Linked DNA regions of Homo sapiens: regions 2, 3 and 4 are each linked to region 1. Evidence: promoter capture Hi-C in 16 types of primary human blood cells and fetal thymus (Javierre and others, 2016). All regions are on one chromosome and are shown on one strand. The core of a region is centred on a gene start or on the middle of the fragment in contact, and the rest is flanking DNA. Distances in the headings are between cores, read along the strand shown.

Region 1 (4,205 bases), core at 1,274-3,773:
TCAGGAGGCTGAGGCACGAGAATCACTTGAACCCAGGAGGCAGAGGTTGCAATGAACTGAGATCGTGCCATTGTACTCCAGCCTGGGCGACAGAGTGAGACTCTGTCTCAAAAAGAAAAAAAAAAAAAAAAAAAAACTTTTTCCCCCCCGCTTAAGATAATAAAAACACACTCTGGTGTTATAAAAGGGTATAAGAAGGGTTTCTTTCTTCCTCACCCCAGCCTTAATATTACTTTTGGCACAGGCCTCGTTCCTGAAGACATTAACGTAATGTGTTAGAGATCAAATAGGCCAACAAAAAGCTAAGATTCCCTTTCTGAGGATATAACTGAGTGACAGGAGGGAAGAATCAATGGACTTGTTTTTTTTAACACTCTTCTGTACCTCATTTTCCCTACTTAATTCCTAATGACATAACCTTTTTCCTTTCTACACATTAGTACCTCTGCCAATGTACTCACATATTTTTACAGATACTGATGAAAGATTATTCTTAAAACAGAGAACACATGCAATTTAAGTTCCACATCTAGCTTGTAAAAAGTATTTTTTATACATCAGCAACTAGCCTGTGAAGTAAAGACCTGTTTACTATCATATTCCTTAATACTTAGCTTACTGAACTTATAGTTAACAGGATTGTATTCAGGCTATAAAGTGATTAGGTTGATTAAAGTTCAGGAGGCTGGACTACACCAATATTGATTCGTGAAAATTATCCCTTAGTGATATTGAAAGTTGCAAAAGCCAGAAAATAGGGTAGGATTTTAGGGGTAGATCACAACAGTTTTTATTTATTTTCAGGGTCTTGCTCTGTCACCCAGGCTGGAGTACAGTGGTGTGATTATTTTTTTTTTTAACTGTAATTATATGCTGGGCTTGAGCTAAACAATCTGAACTAGAATGTAGAACTGAAAAGAAGTGAGGAAAACTGAGGGGGAGGAAAAAAATATTTTGACTTTTTTTTTTTTTAACCAGGGAGTGAGAGTCAGGAAAAGGAGACTGGAACAATTGGACATTGTTCCAAGTAGCTTTTACATCATCTAAACCTGCTGCATATCTTAGGTATTTACCACTCTGAGCACTGTATACCACTAGAAGGGGAATGAAACCTTAGATCTGTAGAGGAAAACTATTACAGAAACTCCAAAAGTTATAGAAAATTGCACCCAGCATTAGATAGATGGTACTCTACACTAAGAATCTGCTAAATGAGGCCAGGTGTGGTGGCTTATGCCTGTAATCCCAGCACTTTGGGAGGCCGAGGCAGATGGATCGCTTGAGCCCTGGAGTTCGAGATGAGACCAGCCTGAACAACATGGTGAAACCCCATCTCTACAAAGAAATTTAAAAATTAGCTGGGCTTAGTGGCATGCGCTTGTAGTCCCAGCTATTTGAGGATGGGGGTGCTGAGGAGGATAGTTTGAGCCCAGGAAGTTGAGGCTGCAGTGAGCCTTGATTGTACCACTGCACTCCAGCATGGGCAAAAGAGCCAGACCCTGTCTGAGAAAAAAAAAAAAAAAAGATTAAATGAAAACTTCTACAATTGGGATTGGGGTGAATCCAACTAATGTATTATTACCCTAAATGTACAGTTGTACTAAAAGCCTTCTAGTAACTAAAGTGAATGGAAATAGAATACCTCAATGAAACTGGAAGAAATTACTCCAGTTTCATAAGATCCCTCTTGGGCAGTACTTTTTAGTCACTAGTTTTGCTTTGGGATTATAGGCTGACATTTTCTGATTATTAGACAGTTTGCCAATATAAAGATTGAAATGGAAGAGGATTTTTCATTATCAGAGGACTAGTCACCATTCCTCAAACAATGCAACCTTTGAACACTTTTGCTATTTACTTATCCCATCTCTTGTGCCATTCTTCCTTGCTTTAATGGATTGTGACTCTGACTCCAGTATACTGTTTGATGCAGGCCAACCTCATACGGAAAATTTTCACCATCCGCATTTACTGTAGGATTTTAAAAAAGATACTGTGGATCAGGTTAAAAGTCTTCTTCTATTCCTAGTTTATAGGTGTGTTCTGTCATTAATGGATATTGAACTTTATCAAATTATTTCTTATCAGTGATGACTTACCTGTTAATGTGGCGAATTACAGATATAGCAGAGTTTCTGGTTTGGACCACTCTTTTGCCACTCTCGTCACAATGACTGTGAAAACTTAATTTGTTCAGGGGATTTAATTGTCCAGAAATTAGTAAGCAGTTTTCGCTGCAACTATGTAACAGTGTATGGAAAACATATAGACATAATTCCATATATTAGCTAGACCTGATTTTCAATTCACTTTAAAATGTTTTCATTGTAGGAATCACTATCTTCTCTGTTGGTGTGGCTTGGGCACCTCTGGATGACCTGAAAGATATGGCTTCTAAACCGAAGGAGTCTCATGCTTTCTTCACAAGAGAGTTCACAGGATTAGAACCAATTGTTTCTGATGTCATCAGAGGCATTTGTAGAGATTTCTTAGAATCCCAGCAATAATGGTAACATTTTGACAACTGAAAGAAAAAGTACAAGGGGATCCAGTGTGTAAATTGTATTCTCATAATACTGAAATGCTTTAGCATACTAGAATCAGATACAAAACTATTAAGTATGTCAACAGCCATTTAGGCAAATAAGCACTCCTTTAAAGCCGCTGCCTTCTGGTTACAATTTACAGTGTACTTTGTTAAAAACACTGCTGAGGCTTCATAATCATGGCTCTTAGAAACTCAGGAAAGAGGAGATAATGTGGATTAAAACCTTAAGAGTTCTAACCATGCCTACTAAATGTACAGATATGCAAATTCCATAGCTCAATAAAAGAATCTGATACTTAGACCAAAAGCAACATTCGTTCTCTAACCATTCTGTATTGATTATATAAGCAAAATGAAAAGAGAAACTTAAATGAACACAGCTCTTTAACATGGTTCAGGTACACATATTTTGACCCAAGTGGATATTTTCTTAAAACCAATCAATAATAGCTAGCTATTACTGCAGACTATAAAATCTGGATATAGAAAGGAGACCTGTATCAAACTGCTTTTGTAGTGTGTTTTCATAACAACTTATGACTAAAAATATCACACTGAATAAGAGAGCAGGATTGCCAGGTATTTTTCTATTTCTCTCCTTAATTTTATATGTATATAGATATATTTGGCTTATATTCTAAGTCACCTAAGTACTTAAAAGTTAAGTTGGTAAAGTATTTACTGACTGCTTATAAACATTTAAAGACAAAGACATTTCAAATAACTGCAGAAAAAATATTGTAGTTTGAATATTTAAGCAATAAAACTGCTAGTGAGTTATTGTAAGCTGGCTTACTTTTATTACTGCTAGTGTCTCCCCTGAGGATATGGTAAAAATTCATGTGGAAAGACCAATCTGAATTGTTTTTTAAATCATGTAATAATACCAAGAATATTTTTTCTTTGATTCAATTATTTATTGAGGCCAAGCACAGTGGCTCATGCCTGTAATCCCAGCACTTTGGGAGGCTGAAGCAGGAGGACTGCTTGAGGCCAAGAATTCAAGACCAGCCTGGGCAACATAGTGAGAACCCCCTCTACAAAAAAGAAAAAAAAATTAGCCGGGTGGGATGGTGCATGTCTGTAGTCTGAGCTACTTGGGAGGCTGAGGTGGGAGGACTGCTTGAGCCGAGGAGGTCAAGGCTACAGTGAGCCATGATCACACCACTGCACTCCAGCTTGGGTGACAGAGCAAGACCCTATCTCCAAAATAAAAAAAAAAATAAAAAGACACAAGTTTATCGAATACCTACTGTCCTAGGCATTATACACAGCCACTACCTGATTAAACAGTATAAGATATTTTTGAGTACTTGCTTCACCAGAAATGTTTTGTAATTGACATCATTTTTTACTTAAAAATGCTTGTGAAGTTGGTTCCTATGAAAGGAGAACATCAGGACTCCCTTAATGTGACTTAGATGATTCGCTTACCAAGGCCTCTCCCAAAAGACAGAGGTGCTCTATCATCCCACCTTGTCTGTCTTTTCTAAAGATAGGTCCTATCTCCTCCTCTCATCCACCTAAGCCCCCTGAAATGTGTTAACTGGTTAGAATAATATACTCCAGTAAATCTTCTGAGTCTTACAATTTTATACCCTGCATAAGAGGAATAAAAGGACTACATGCAGGGAGAAACAAACTGGAATTGACTTTT
Region 2 (4,681 bases), core at 774-3,273, 150 kb before region 1:
ATATCTCCCAATGCTATCCCTCCCCCCTCCCCCCACCCCACAACAGTCCCCAGAGTGTGATGTTCCCCTTCCTGTGTCCATGTGTTCTCTTCTATCCTTGGAGATCAAAGGATAGGACTGAAAGTTCCAACCCTCTAATCACATGGTGAGTTCCCCTAGCAACCAGCCTCCGTCCTGTGGCTATCAAGGAGCCCCCAGCTATCAGGCATCTCATAACCTTACAAAAAGACATTACTTTGGCTATTACAAGGGTTTCTGCACCTGTGTGCCAGGAATTGGGAACAAAGACCAAATCTATATGTGTTATTACAAATCACAGTATCACACTGTATAACCCAGCAATTCTATTGCTAGATATCTTCTCAAAAGAACTGAAAATGACTGAACAAATCTTGTACACCAACGTATTATGCACAATAGCCAAAAGGTGGAAACAACCCAAATATCCATCATTGAATAAATAAATGTGATATATTCATTCAATGGAATATTTTTCAGCCATAAAAGAGAGTGAAGTACTGATACACGCTACAACATAGTTGAATCTTGAAAGCATTACGCGGAGTGAAAGAAACTAGACATAAAAGCTACATATTGTATTACTCCCTTTATATGAAATGTCCAGAACAGGCAAATGCATAAAGACAGGAAGCAGATTTGTGGTTGCAGGGGTTAGGGGAATAGAGGGTGGGGAGTGACTGCTTAATGGGTACGATGTTTCATTTGGGGTGATGAAAAAGTTTTGGAATTAGATAGTGGTGATGGTTACACATTGTGAATATATGTAATACACTGAATTGTAAACTTTAAAATACATTTTATGTGTATTTTACATCAATAACTTTATAATTATACTGGGAGATTCTTACATGGCATTCACAAACAGGAAAAAATAAAGATGTAAAATATTTGAAAGTACAATTAACAAACGTTGCTAATTGACTACAGTGAACCTGTACTCAACAATTACAGAACATATAATCTTCTGAAGCAGGTATGGAATATTTTTAAAATCTGATCTTACCATGAAGCAAGCCAAATGGCTGAAATCATTTTGAGCATATCTGAATCACAATGTAAGTTAGAAATCAATAACAGACTTTCAATTCAAAAGCCCACACTGGGCTTAGTTGAGACACAGTTCTAATTAACCCAATAAGTTATAAATTAGGAAATATTTTAAAATGAATAAGTTGAACAACCACAAAAATACTACATATTAAAACGTGTTGATACAACTACAGAATTTTAAGGCCCATTTAGAGTTCAAAAACAAATTATAAAAATTAAGGTTAAAATTGATAAACTAAGCATCCATCACAAGAAGTTAGAAAAATAATAAAATCAACAAGAAAAAGGTAGTAAAATGAAATAACAAAGCAGAAATTAATGAGTCAGAATCCAACGTGATAGAGAATGTTAAGGACTAAATTGTGTTACCACCCCCACCCCCTGGCATATTCACATGCTGAAGCTTTAATCTCCAATGTGACTACATTTACTTACAGATAGGGCTTTAGGTGGTAATTAAGGTTAAGTGAGGTCATAAAGATGAGGCGCTAATCCAATAGGACTGGTGTCCTTCTAAGAGGAGAAAGAGACACCAGACACCTCTCCCTCTCTCCACATGTGCACAGAAGAAAGGCTGCATGAGGACCCAGCAAGAAGGTGGATATCTACAAGCCACCAAGAGACTTCACTGGGAACCAGCCCTGAGAGCACCTTGATCTTAGACTTCCAGCCTCTGAACTGTGAGAAAATAAATGTCTGTTCTTTTAGCAACCGAGTCTACAGTATCTTGTCATGGCAGCCCAAGCTGATATACAGAAGAACAAACTTCTGGCAAAACAGATGGAAGAAAAAAAAAAAAAAAGAAAATGAAAAGACACAAAACTCCAATACTAGGAATGAAAAAAGGGACATTACTACTCATCTTGTAGACATCATATAAGTAAAATGAAACTACTTCATATTAAAAAATGAAACCACCACTTTCTTCCAAGATGGAGTCATATTTGCCAGGTTTAACCTCCCATCAGAAACAACTTTAAAACTGGACAGAATACACGCAGCAAAAGTTCTTAACACATTGGACATCAACAACAAGGACTGTGATCCCTGAGAGACAGGAAAAAAATGCGAGCGTCCTTAGATTGCCTCGGCTTATTGCCTGGAGAAAGGTTCTGGACAGCGGTGCCAGAAGGGCGAACCCAGGTGGAGACCCCTTGTCTCCTCTAGTTGAGGCGGCAGTTCTGGGAGTCCAAGGTGACCAAGAGGGCTATAGTTTTCAAGATGGAGTACCAGAAAGGAGAGCGCTGCATAGAGAACTCAAGCTCAGCAGAGGGTTCTCCTCTGTTACAGCTCGACATGTGCAAGTGAAGAAGCTACCTGAGGCTGGGAGAAGAACCACCCAAAAGCATTAGAAGGAATAGTCCTCAGACGGACCAGGAACCAACCAGAATATAAAAATGCATAATTCCCAGAGAATCGCATTTAAAAACTCACAAATATTTTGCCTTAGTAGCGAGGAAAAAATAACCTTAGTCTAAGCACTGTTCTGGTCCTGCCTAACAAAGCTTGAAAGCAATGCCCAAAAGCATCAAACTGTTTCCAAGTAACTGAACTATATCCCAGACTAAATCTCAAGAATAACTATAGCAATACAAAAATATCCAGCACCCAACAAGGTAAAATTTGCATTTAAAATCTAATCAAAACTTACCAGGAATGCAAAGCAACAGGCAAACACAAAACATAATGAGGATTAAAAAATCAATTTAAACTTAACCAAAAACATCACAGATGCTATAATTAGTAGATGAGGATAGTAAAGTATTTATTATAGCTATTTCATATGTTCAAGAAGTTAGGGGAAGACTGACCTTTTTGAGTAGAGGCATGAAACATACAACAAAGACCCAAATCAAACTTCTAAAGACAAAACCTACAATATCTGTATTAGTCTTCTATTGGTGCTATAACAAATTATCACAAATGTAGTGGCTTAAAATACCACAAATATATTACCTTACAGTTCTAGGGGTAAGAAGCCCAAAATGGTTCTCACTGGGCCAAAATCCAGAAAGGGTGGCATTTTGCATTCCTGGGAAGTATTGATTAGATTGATTTTAAATGCAAATTGTACCTGTTGGGTGCTGGCTATTTTCGTATTCCCACAGTTATTCTCAAGCTTTGGTCTGGGATGTAGTTAAGTTACTTGGAAACAGTTTGATGCTTGTCTTCTCCATGTTGTGAGCCAGTGATGGCCAGTCAAGTCTTTCTCACAATGATATTTGTTTGGTCGTGTCCCCACCCAAATCTCATCTTGAATTGTAGCTCCCATAATGCCCACATGTCATGGAAGTTACCCGGTGGAAGGTAACTGAATCATGGGAGTGGGTTTTTCCCATGCTATTCCCTTGGTAGTGAATAAGCCTCATGAGATCTGATAGTTTTACAAACAGGAGTCCCCCTGCACAAGCTCTCTTGCCTGCCACCATGTAAGACATGCCTTTGTTCTTCCTTTGCCTTCCACCATGATTGTGAGGCCTCCCCAGCCATGCGGAACTGTGAGTCCATTAAACTTCTTTCGTTTATAAATTACCTAGTCTTGGGTATATCTTTATTAGCGGCACGAGAATGGACTAATACACACAGGTAGCATTCTGACAGCGATTTTTCTGCCTGTCTCTTCTACATTTAAAGGATCCACATGGTTACACTGGGTCCACCTAAATAATCCACGATAATGTCTTTATAACACTCCGCCCCTAAAACAGCAGCATACACACACTTTTCAAGTTCTTTCAGAACATTTACTAAAGTATACCATATTCTGAACCTTTAAAAAGGTCTCAATAAATTTTAAATTTACTTAAGTTTTAAAATAAATCAATAACAGAAATGTGGAACGTGGTTGTCACAGGTTAGGCCCCCAGAAGGCAGACTCAGACCACATTTAGCATACAGGAAGGCTATTTATTAGGGAAGGTTATTGGCATGAGGAAGATGATCGGGACTAACACGCATGGCAGAAGGGATAGAAGCAGGAGTAGGCAGCAAAGGCCCAGCCCTCCAAGAGGAAGCTTCAGAGCTAGGATGGCCTTTCTGACTCATCCTGAGTTGGAGTGAAGAGGTCGGTACTTCATACCCCTTGCCAAGTAGTCACTGATACAGGCTGTCCCCAGGAAGCAGGTGTGACTTTGGGCCAGGAGACAGCTTCTGGCCAGGCATATTCCCTGAGGAAGAGGAGTCTGGCCAGTGCTGCGCGCACTTTAGCTGAATGAAACAGGGACAGGAAAAGAAGGGAAGGAGCTACCTCAAAGTGGAAAGAAGTGTAGGGGTCACATACACCCGACCTTGCCTAGCAAAGCAGAGGCCACGTCATCTGCCAAAGCCATCAAAGCAGTTGGTGCCCAGGACTCCAGGAGAGAACATTGTTTGAAGACAAGGTTGAGAAGTTAAGCTACAGAGGAGATAATGTCCCTGTTTCCTTAGAAATGGAGAAGTCCTACTTGAACTATTTAACATTTGTTCAGAAATATTTTATCAGGTAGAAACTATACAAAAACTATACAAAGAAGATGGTCTCTTTTCATGTAGTCTTTGCATTTAAAAATAAGTTGGAAAGAAATAGCCTTATTAATGGGCCAGGCGTGGTGGCTCACGCCTGTAATCCCAT
Region 3 (4,390 bases), core at 1,853-4,352, 210 kb before region 1:
ATAGCACCATTGCACTCCAGCCCAGGCGACAGAGACTCTGTCTCAAAAAAAAGAAGGAGGGAGGAAATGTGTTTTAGAAATACAGATAACGCATGTTTCCATTAATTTGATTTTATTTAAACCTCCAAAATTTGGAATCAGAAAGTAAAGTGATAGAAATAATGATATTTGGGAGCCAGATTATTTTAAAATAAGCATTTCACCTGTATTAATAAATACTGTAGGTGTTCAAGTCTAGAGATTAAATTAGTTGATAGTTTAATTCGTCATCTTGTTACTGTTTCACTGTTCTGAGTTTCCACAGGGGAAACACCAGGCATGAGATAAAGTCTATGTCATTTTAGAAAATTTATTGGTTAATATTTAATTTTTTGATACTTGCAGTTCTTTGCCAGAACTCCTTGAGAAAAAAAGACTTATTGATCTCCATACAAATGTTGCCACTGCTGTTTTAGAACATATAAAGGTAAATTTAACTTTTTCCCCCCCACAATATGACTTGCATTTACATAGGGTTTTATACTTTGTAAGATGCTTTAGTATTCATTATCTTATTGAGTCCCCACTGTAACATGAAGTATAATTATGGAAGACAGCAGTATTATAGTTATTTTTTTGCAAATAAAGTAACCTAGGAATCCAGAAAGATAAGTGATTTCCAAGGTCACATGTTTAGTAAATAGAAGTGGGAATCTATGATATTTCTATTATATTGCACTGCCTCAATATCACTGCTGTACATACTACTGTATTAATAGTAGACTTGTATCTCAGCATCAGTAATAGATTTGGAAATCTCTTTTACCAGAGTTCTATCTAAAATATCCATTAATAACATCACTTTTATTTATGTGACTTTGTTCTGAACTTTTTAAATTTAGAGAATCTGTTAACATTGAAGCTTCTTACTGTGTATCATTGAACTGTGATTTTGAAACAAGTATGTTGGGAGTTCTATATATTGTTATAGTTCTTTTTCTCATTACCGTGTTCATGATTGCCCCATTGTCAGCTTACTTAATCAGTCCTTCAGTATTCTGCTATTATTTGTTCTCCACACTTGGAGCTGAATTTCTGTGGCAGATTGACCATATGCTAAAACTTGGCTAATATTGACCCCTCCTTTCCATTTTATATGATGCATTTGAAACTGTTTAAAAAGCTGAATATAATTGCTGGCTGTCAGAGAAGTTGATAACACCTGGGATTTATTGAGAAGGTACTTAAAGGTATTATTTAAATAATTTTAAAAGCCACAAAAGCATTAGAAAGGCACTAACATAGATAATGGGCAGCATGCAGTTTAAACCTGCATAATTACTATTACGCCAACAACCTAATTTTTTTCTTTGTTTCACATCTTGGTACTTGATATTTTTCAGGTTCATACAGGAATAGAAACAGAACTGCAGTCTGTAGGTGATTCTGCTGATGTTTTCACTTCTATATGTAGTGTCTCTGTGAAATGGCAAAAGGCTGTTCAGATCTGTTTACCTGAGGTCATTGTCTCTTGTGGAGGTGATACAGATACAGATATAGATGTATAGATATATCACCAGGTGAAATACAACAGAGAGCTATATTGAGAATTTCCTTCAGGTCGGAGACTAGAACTTATAGTTTGAGAAAATTTTGGTTAATTTACTTATTCAATCATGTTTATTGAGTGGCTCTATGTATATTGTACTAGGCCCTGAAGATACTGTAGTAAACAAGACAGACAAGTTCTCTGTTCTCTTGAAGCTTATATTGTAGTGACAGTAAACAGAGTAAGCAAATTAGAAAACAAGTTAACTTCAGGCATTTTAGTGACATGAGAACAACAAAAACAGCAGGGTGATGTGAGGCAATGGGATATGAGAATGGCTGAGAGGCCTACTCTGGAGTAAGTCTGCAAGTGAAATCACCTTTGATGAGGTGATGTTTGAGTTGAGACAGGAATCACAGAAAGGAGCCAATTAGTGAAGATCTCAGGGCCAACCATGCCAGGCAGAGGGAATAAGAAGTGCAAAGGCCCTACGACAAACAAATTCGGTATGTTTGAGAACCTAGAAAAAGACAAATTGTGCTTTATTGAGGAGGGAAAGAGTGATGGTAGAATATGGAATCAAAAAAAGTAGAAATTTAAGTATGATAACTCATTAGAGGTTAATGACATGATCTGATTTATGTTTTAAAATAAAGAAGACTGTGGAGGATAAGGGACAATGAGTTCTGGAAATAAAAGTGGAACTGGAAGACAACTATTATAGATGTGTAGGTGAAAAATGATTTATAAGACATAATTTACTTACGAAATTTTTATCGTGCTTATTATAATTTTACACTAATGATTTTAGGTGAGTTTTTCAGATCAGTTTTTGCTAACAGAGGCCATCTGTCTGAGATAGTTTAATATGCTACCATGCCCAACCTAAACAATTCTACTTGAAGACCTCTTGGTCTTATAAAAGAAAGTGTTCCCTTTAGGGTTGCTAGTTCTCTGGCAGAGCATCTTATGCCAAGAAACTAATCTGTCATTCAAGATATTGAGTGATTTTATGTAAAAGATAGATTTTATTTATTCACTTATTTATTTATTTTGACAGGGTCTCTCCCTGTCACCCAGGCTGGAGTACAGTGGCACAATCATAGCTCAATATAGCCTTAACCTCCTGGGCTCAAGGATCCTCCTGCCTTGCCTCCCTAGTAACTAAGACTATTGGTGCATTCCACCACACCCAGTCAAAAAAATAGATATTATTGAATCATTATCTTGCTAATGATCCTTTTTCATCATAAGATCTGATTTAAACAAAGTGTGCTATTGAGGACATTCACTTTACAGAGGGAAAATAATGTCATCTGTAGAACACACTACTCCTAGTTGGGTCATTCTAAGAAGCCCAATTAAAAATCAGAAGTTTTTTTTATATCCTAGATAAAGAAGCATATTTATTTTAAATATTTTAAGTTCTTCCTTGTCAAAAGTAGCAGATAAACTGTATTGTTCTCATTATTTCTCATTATTCCTAGTTACAGAATTTCTTATAACTTTTCATAACTCTTAAATTTCCATCCTTATAAGCGGCATGTTTATTTATACCATTACTATGTTAAGCCACCTACTGCTGGCTGTGTTAATGTTAATTAAAGAAATATTTTGCTCCGTAATCTCTTCTCTTTTCACCAGAATTTCTTGACCATCTGAGCTTTACTTACTTGTGAACATACATTCACCTAAGCACCTTTTTTTTTTTTTTTTTTTTTTTTTTTTTTTGAGACAGAGTCTCACTCTGTCACCAGGCCGGAGTGCAGTGGCACACTCTCAGCTCACTGCAACCTCCACCTCCTGGGTTCAAGCGATTCTTCTGCCTCAGCCTCCTGAGTAGCTGAGACTACAGGCACGGACCACCATGCCCAGCTAATTTATGTATTTTTAGTAGAGACAGGATTTCACCATGTTGGGCAGGATGGTCACCATCTCTTGACCTCATGATCCACCCGCCTCGGCCCCGCGAAGTGCTGGGATTACAGGCGTGAGCCACCGCGCCTGGCCGTAAATATTTTTTACTAGCTAGAAGATTGTGTCATGTAGAGGTCTCAGCATTTCTCTTAGTATTTGACTGTATTAGTTTTACATATTTCTTCTTTTGTTTAGAGTATAACCGCTTCTTACATTTCCTTCAGTCGTTTTCTAAAGAAGAAATTAACCTTTTTAGAAATCCTGGCAGTTACCCCGCAATTGATGTTTTGGTGGAAAATTAGAGCACACCAGTTTGTCATAACTTTAAGAAACATTTTCACTTTATTGATATTCTGAGGATTTTAGTGATTTGGGTAATTTGGGTCTAATAAAGAGTAAATTGTTGAATACTCATTTGTTTTGAGTCATCTATATTTTTAAACCCTTTCTTTAGTTGTTTTTTCATCCCTAATACAAATGCAACTTTCCCACTTGCTGGTTGTTAGAGAATGGCTTCTGGGATTACTTACATAATTTGTAGACAGCCTGTTTTAATTATTCTTAGCTCACCTATGTAGCAAACCTGAATAAAGTACTCTTTAGCTCCAGATACCTAAAGAAAAGAAGCCTACTTGTAAAGCATAGTTGATGAGATGAGAGAGAGAAATGGTATCATGGGTTCTTTCCCCCAGTGTTCCCACCTTAGAGGAAAAGCACCCACATCTGAATGCTCCAACCAACCGGATATAGCTGGTAAAAAATAAGCTATCAATAAACTTTGTGAGGCAAGGCTTAATTGTTACTGGATCCTCATTTTTGTTTTACTTGTTCTTATAGACAGTCTTATAGGGACTGAATTAGATCTAAAGACATCATCTGATTAGGTGATGATGTCTGTACTCTAAAGAAGGCTTAACCCTTGTTGGCAATGCTAGCTTTTCACTA
Region 4 (4,714 bases), core at 2,095-4,594, 190 kb before region 1:
ATTTATTTATTTATTTATTTATAGACAGGGTCTCACTATGTTTCCCAGGCTAGTCTCAAACTCCCAAGGCTCAAGCGATCCTCTCACCTCAGCCTCCCAAGTACCTGGGACTACAGGAATGTGCCACTGCACCTTAGCATACTGAGTTTTACATATGCAGTCACAAAATACTAGATTCTTTACGTTTTCCACTTCTAGAAGTTCGTTCATCTATTTTTATGACTTTTAAAAATGATTACTTGGTCTGTATACACCCCGTTCTTAGTTTCGAAATTCAGCAAATGCAAGTGCTTGTTATAAGCCAGGTGGTGGTAGACTCCTAGGGTTAAACAATTAATTAAACATGCTCTAAGGAGTTTACAGTTTTAGAAAGACACATAAACAAAGGACAGTAATATACTGTGATCTTTGTTATTATGATGAGGTGTATAAAGTGCTGTTGATACACAGATAAGGGAGTAATGAGTTATTTTGGCCAAGGAGGAGACTGGGAGAGGGTCAGAAAAGGGAGAGAGTAGGGATTGAAGGAAGAGTTGTAGAAAAGCTACAGAGAAGGTAGACGTTGAATGAGTAGAATTCACTGAGTAGATGGTAAGGAGGAATATATTCTGCAAAAGCTGAGAGAATAACTTGAGCCTAAGACTAGAGAATTAAAAGCAAACACAGTATTTAATGACAAGTTAAAGTTTAATGAAATAACTATTTGATGTGACTAGCGGAAACTGAATTTAGTGAATAGTGATAAAACAGAAAAGGTTAGCTGGATCAGAGGGCCTGAAAGTTAGTTTAACAGCTTATTTTAGCACCTTTCCCCTTCCATTCCTGACTTCACTCTGCAGATAACAGCTTTTCCCAAGCTAATATTCACATTAACAGTTCCTAGTATCATCATTGTCATTCCCCAAAGTTTTCTTTTTCTTCTTTCACTACTTTGTATCCCATATCCTTTCTCATGTAAATTATTAAATACCCGTCTTGTCCTTTCCATTCCCACAGCCACTACTGTGGCCTTTTTCCTAGAATCTCATATTTCTTTTGCTCATTTTTAGTATTATTGGTAGGACTTTCTCATTTCTAGGACTTTACTGTGTATCAATTTTAGTATTCAAACTAGCTTTATAGAGTAGCTAAAATAGTTCCTATATCAGAGAGTCTGAAGAATATGAAGGGCTGGAGAATTCATAGATAAGAGCTCACTGATAGGGAATCCTCTACATGCTGATGTAGAATATATTGTTCAGTGAAAGGAAAGGGCAGAAAAGTACAGTATCATACTTCTTGTGTCAGAAAGGAGGCGGATATTAGAATACAGACTCTGCTGATATTTGCACAAAGAAACTCTAAAAAAAACTAGAAGAAATAATAAAAGAAAATACCTATAGAAGCAGGTAGAAATGGGGTGGAAGAGGACGGGGTGAAAAATAAGGCTTCTCAGTATATGTCTTTTTATGTTGTATTCATTTTTGAACTATCTGGATATTTCATCTATAAAACTTTGGCCTTGCGTGCCACTGCAAGGGAGTAGCAGTGAAATGACTCTGATTTCTTGTTGCTCCATGTATCAAATTCACTCCTTAGTCTACTGTTTAGATGTTTCTACCTTGTGCCTTGGCATGATCTGTTTAACTGAAATGAACTATATCTATGTCCCTAAATCACTTTCAAACTTCAACTCAAAATATATCACTTCCTCCTCAATTGGCTATTTATTTCATTCTGCCTTTTAGCATAATGTATTTATGTTGTATATTTGTATATTGGTTCTACGTTGGTATTACTATAAATCCTAATATAGTTCATGAATGGTTTCCACTCCCACTTTGATTGTTTACACCCTTAATTATAAAAATTGTTTTTATAATTTCATGAATGGTTTCTACTCCCACTTGATTATTAACACCCTCAATAGTATCTGAATTATCTGAAGCATAACTTAAGAGTTATTTGATAATTTTTATTTGCTTTTGAGGATCTTAATATGTTAACTTTATTTGGATAATTTTAATCAACAAAATTTTCAATTAGGAAAGGTCTCACACAGCAAAGTTTTACTACGTTTCCGTTATCTTAAACTTCAAGATATTAAATAGGAAAACTAATAAGGAAAAAGTTTTTTTAAAAAAACAAAAAGGACAATAATTTAGTTTAAGGTAACTTTCCATCTAGTTAAGGTGAATATATGTGGATTTGCACACTAAAATAGTAAACATAACTTGACCACCTGACATGAATTTTGCATGGAGTACAATATGATTTGTATGCCAGTAACTAATTAATACAATAAGTAACAATTGTGTTTTTATCTTTGCTAATATATGTACGTTATGCAGAATTACTGCTGAATTTATCCATCAAATATGGTAAACAAAATAATCTGTTGGTTTTTTTCTATATTAAATATATATTCAAAAGTAAGACACTTTAAATTCTTTTAAGAAATGAAAGCCAGGCACAGTTGCTCACACCTGTAATCCCGCACTTTGGGAGGCTGAGACGGGCAGATTGCTTGAGCTCAGGAGTTTAAGACCAGCCTGCACAACATAGCAAAACCCCATCTCTATAAAAAAAAAATACGGAAAAATTAGCCAGGTGTGGTGACACATACCTGTGGTCTCAGCTACTCGGGAGACTGGGTTAGGAATGAGCCTGGGAAGTTGAGATTGCACCACTGTACTTCAGCCTGGTACTTCTGAACTGTACTTTTGACCTGTCTGAAAGAACATATCTTAAAATTGATCATAGAAAATAGAAACTTATAAGGTGAGTAGATCATTATGTATTTTAATGACTTAATATATTCTCATCTAATGTTTATTTTGAAACAGGCAAGAAAATTGGATGTATATTTTGAATATGAAGAAAAAATAATGAGCAAAACTACTCTGGATAAATCTCTTCTAGATATAATATCAGACCCTGATGGTATGTACCAAAAATTTGAGGTTAATGTAAGTTTCATATCTGACGAAAGCAGCATTTTCAATTGAGTAAACTTTGAATAGAATTGTTGTTTTTCTGACAGTCAATGCTAATATCAAGATAATTAAATGAGCTATTTTCTGGTAAAATTTTATAACTTAGCAGTTCCTACAGTGGAAAAATAATTTGCATTTCATTTCATTGAACTTTTATTTGATAGTATTTAGGCACATTTTATATTCACTTGTTTAAGGTGATATATGTAAAGCTTAATATCTGCTGGTTCCAGGAAGATTTGAAGGTATAACATTCAAAGCAAGTGTCTCTAAGTGATTCGCTTCCTAATTACTTTGGTCTACCCTCAATTTCCTGAAAAGATGTATCTAAAACTAAATTCTGTTTTACATGTTTAGGGAGTTTACTTTTAAAGGAACTCTATGGCCAATCACTTTAAATATTTGTATGTTAGATTTTCTTAAAATATAACTATTTGTACTTAGAAAATATGATCTATGGAGGCCAATATGTTAAGCAAAAGAAGCCAGGCGCAGAAAGACAAGTATCACATGTTCTCACTCATGTGGAAGCTTAAAAAGTAGATCTTATGATGATAGAGTTACCAGAGGCCAGGAAAGGGAGAGAGGTGGAGGGATGAAGGGAACAAAAAAATATAAACGTATTTTTTACCACTGAACTGTGCACTTAACAATGGTAAAGACTGGCCAGGCACAGTGGTTCATACCTGTAATCCCAGTACTTTGGGAGCTTGAGGCAGGAGGATTGCTTAAGCCCAGGAGTTTGAGACCAGCCTAGGCAATAAAGCAAGACCCCATATACACACAAAAAATGAAGAAAGTTAGCCAGGCAGGGTGGCATGCATCTGTAGTCCCAGCTACTTGGGAGACTGAGGTGGGAGGATCCGTTGAGCCTAGGAGTACGATGTTGCAGTAAGCTAAGATCGCACAACTGCACTCCAGCCTGGGTGGCAGAGCAAGACCTGGTCTCAAAAACAAACAAACAAAAAAAACCACAGGCAAAAATAGTAAAAAAAAAATTTAATGTAATCCAATTGTAGTTTTTAATTATAAAGATTGTGGGATCTACATAGAGTCTTAGTCTCTGAAATTCCCTAAACTTTAGAGACCTGTAGATCATTTCACAATAGTTTTGAATTCAAATCTCAGCTTTTTCCAAAACAAATGGAAAGCCTAGGACCCATTTTGCATATAAGCTATTTAAGCTGCATAATTATGGTTTTTGAGTTATAGTTTTGGTATGAATTTTAGACTATAATCCAAATTAGAAAATAATTTAAAAGTCCAAACTGTTTTATAATTAAAGATTCTATTTATACAAACATCTGAGAAGCCATAAGTATTGCTCACACTTTTAGAAAGCTAGATTTGTGGTGAGAACATAGCATTTTAAAGGTATATGCATTTTACAGTGAAAGAAATTTAAAAAGTTATATAAGTCTATCATTTCTGAGCTATTCCTTGTTATTTACAGTAACTTTCGAGTAAAGTTGAAACAAAAAAAACATGTTGACAGAAAGGCAATCAGTCCTGCTTTTTCCTTTCCCCTTTCTCAAACGATTTATCCCTAAAGATATTTAAGTAGGATAGAGCAAGGTAGGCATTCTTGCAAAGTAGCAGTCTGGTGCCACTTCGGTCCAGAATAAGATGTTGGAACCTGAGCAAGATGACTAAGGGCATCCACTCATGGAATAGAGGGAGGATTAGTAATCTGGCATGTCAAAGTTCAGGAAAGGAAAGCAGAGTGTCCACATGTGGGA

Evidence for each region. Contacts are between HindIII fragments. The CHiCAGO score rates a contact against its expected background, and 5 or more counts as called.
Region 2: a contact is called between a fragment that was not itself captured here and the fragment with the promoter of COCH-AS1 in region 1, in 2 of 17 cell types (M1 macrophages and M2 macrophages). The highest score is 5.6, in M1 macrophages.
Region 3: a fragment that was not itself captured here is called in contact with the fragment with the promoter of COCH-AS1 in region 1 in 2 of 17 cell types (megakaryocytes and M1 macrophages); the score reaches 6.7 in megakaryocytes.
Region 4: a contact is called between a fragment that was not itself captured here and the fragment with the promoter of COCH-AS1 in region 1, in 1 of 17 cell types (M1 macrophages). The highest score is 8.1, in M1 macrophages.

The regions. Positions count from the first base shown.
Region 1 is chr14:30,887,285-30,891,489 of GRCh38, forward strand. COCH-AS1 (COCH antisense RNA 1) reads right to left here and starts at 2,524. Exons shown (of 5, transcript NR_038356.1): 1 at 2,100-2,524; 2 at 1,859-1,971. COCH (cochlin) reads left to right here. Exons shown (of 12, transcript NM_004086.3): 12 at 2,332-3,334. The coding sequence ends at 2,507. The HindIII fragment of the contact is 10,353 bases long and covers 1-4,205 here.
Region 2 is chr14:30,739,546-30,744,226 of GRCh38, forward strand. No RefSeq gene overlaps it. Among named protein-coding and RNA genes, the nearest start is that of SCFD1, 120 kb to the left of the region's middle. The HindIII fragment of the contact is 1,102 bases long and covers 1,473-2,574 here.
Region 3 is chr14:30,674,600-30,678,989 of GRCh38, forward strand. It overlaps SCFD1 (sec1 family domain containing 1), which reads left to right. Exons shown (of 25, transcript NM_016106.4): 14 at 385-466. Among named protein-coding and RNA genes, the nearest start is that of SCFD1, 54 kb to the left of the region's middle. RefSeq lists an enhancer at 1-837. The HindIII fragment of the contact is 2,722 bases long and covers 1,742-4,390 here.
Region 4 is chr14:30,691,948-30,696,661 of GRCh38, forward strand. It overlaps SCFD1 (sec1 family domain containing 1), which reads left to right. Exons shown (of 25, transcript NM_016106.4): 15 at 2,826-2,922. Among named protein-coding and RNA genes, the nearest start is that of SCFD1, 72 kb to the left of the region's middle. RefSeq lists an enhancer at 598-1,157. The HindIII fragment of the contact is 319 bases long and covers 3,186-3,504 here.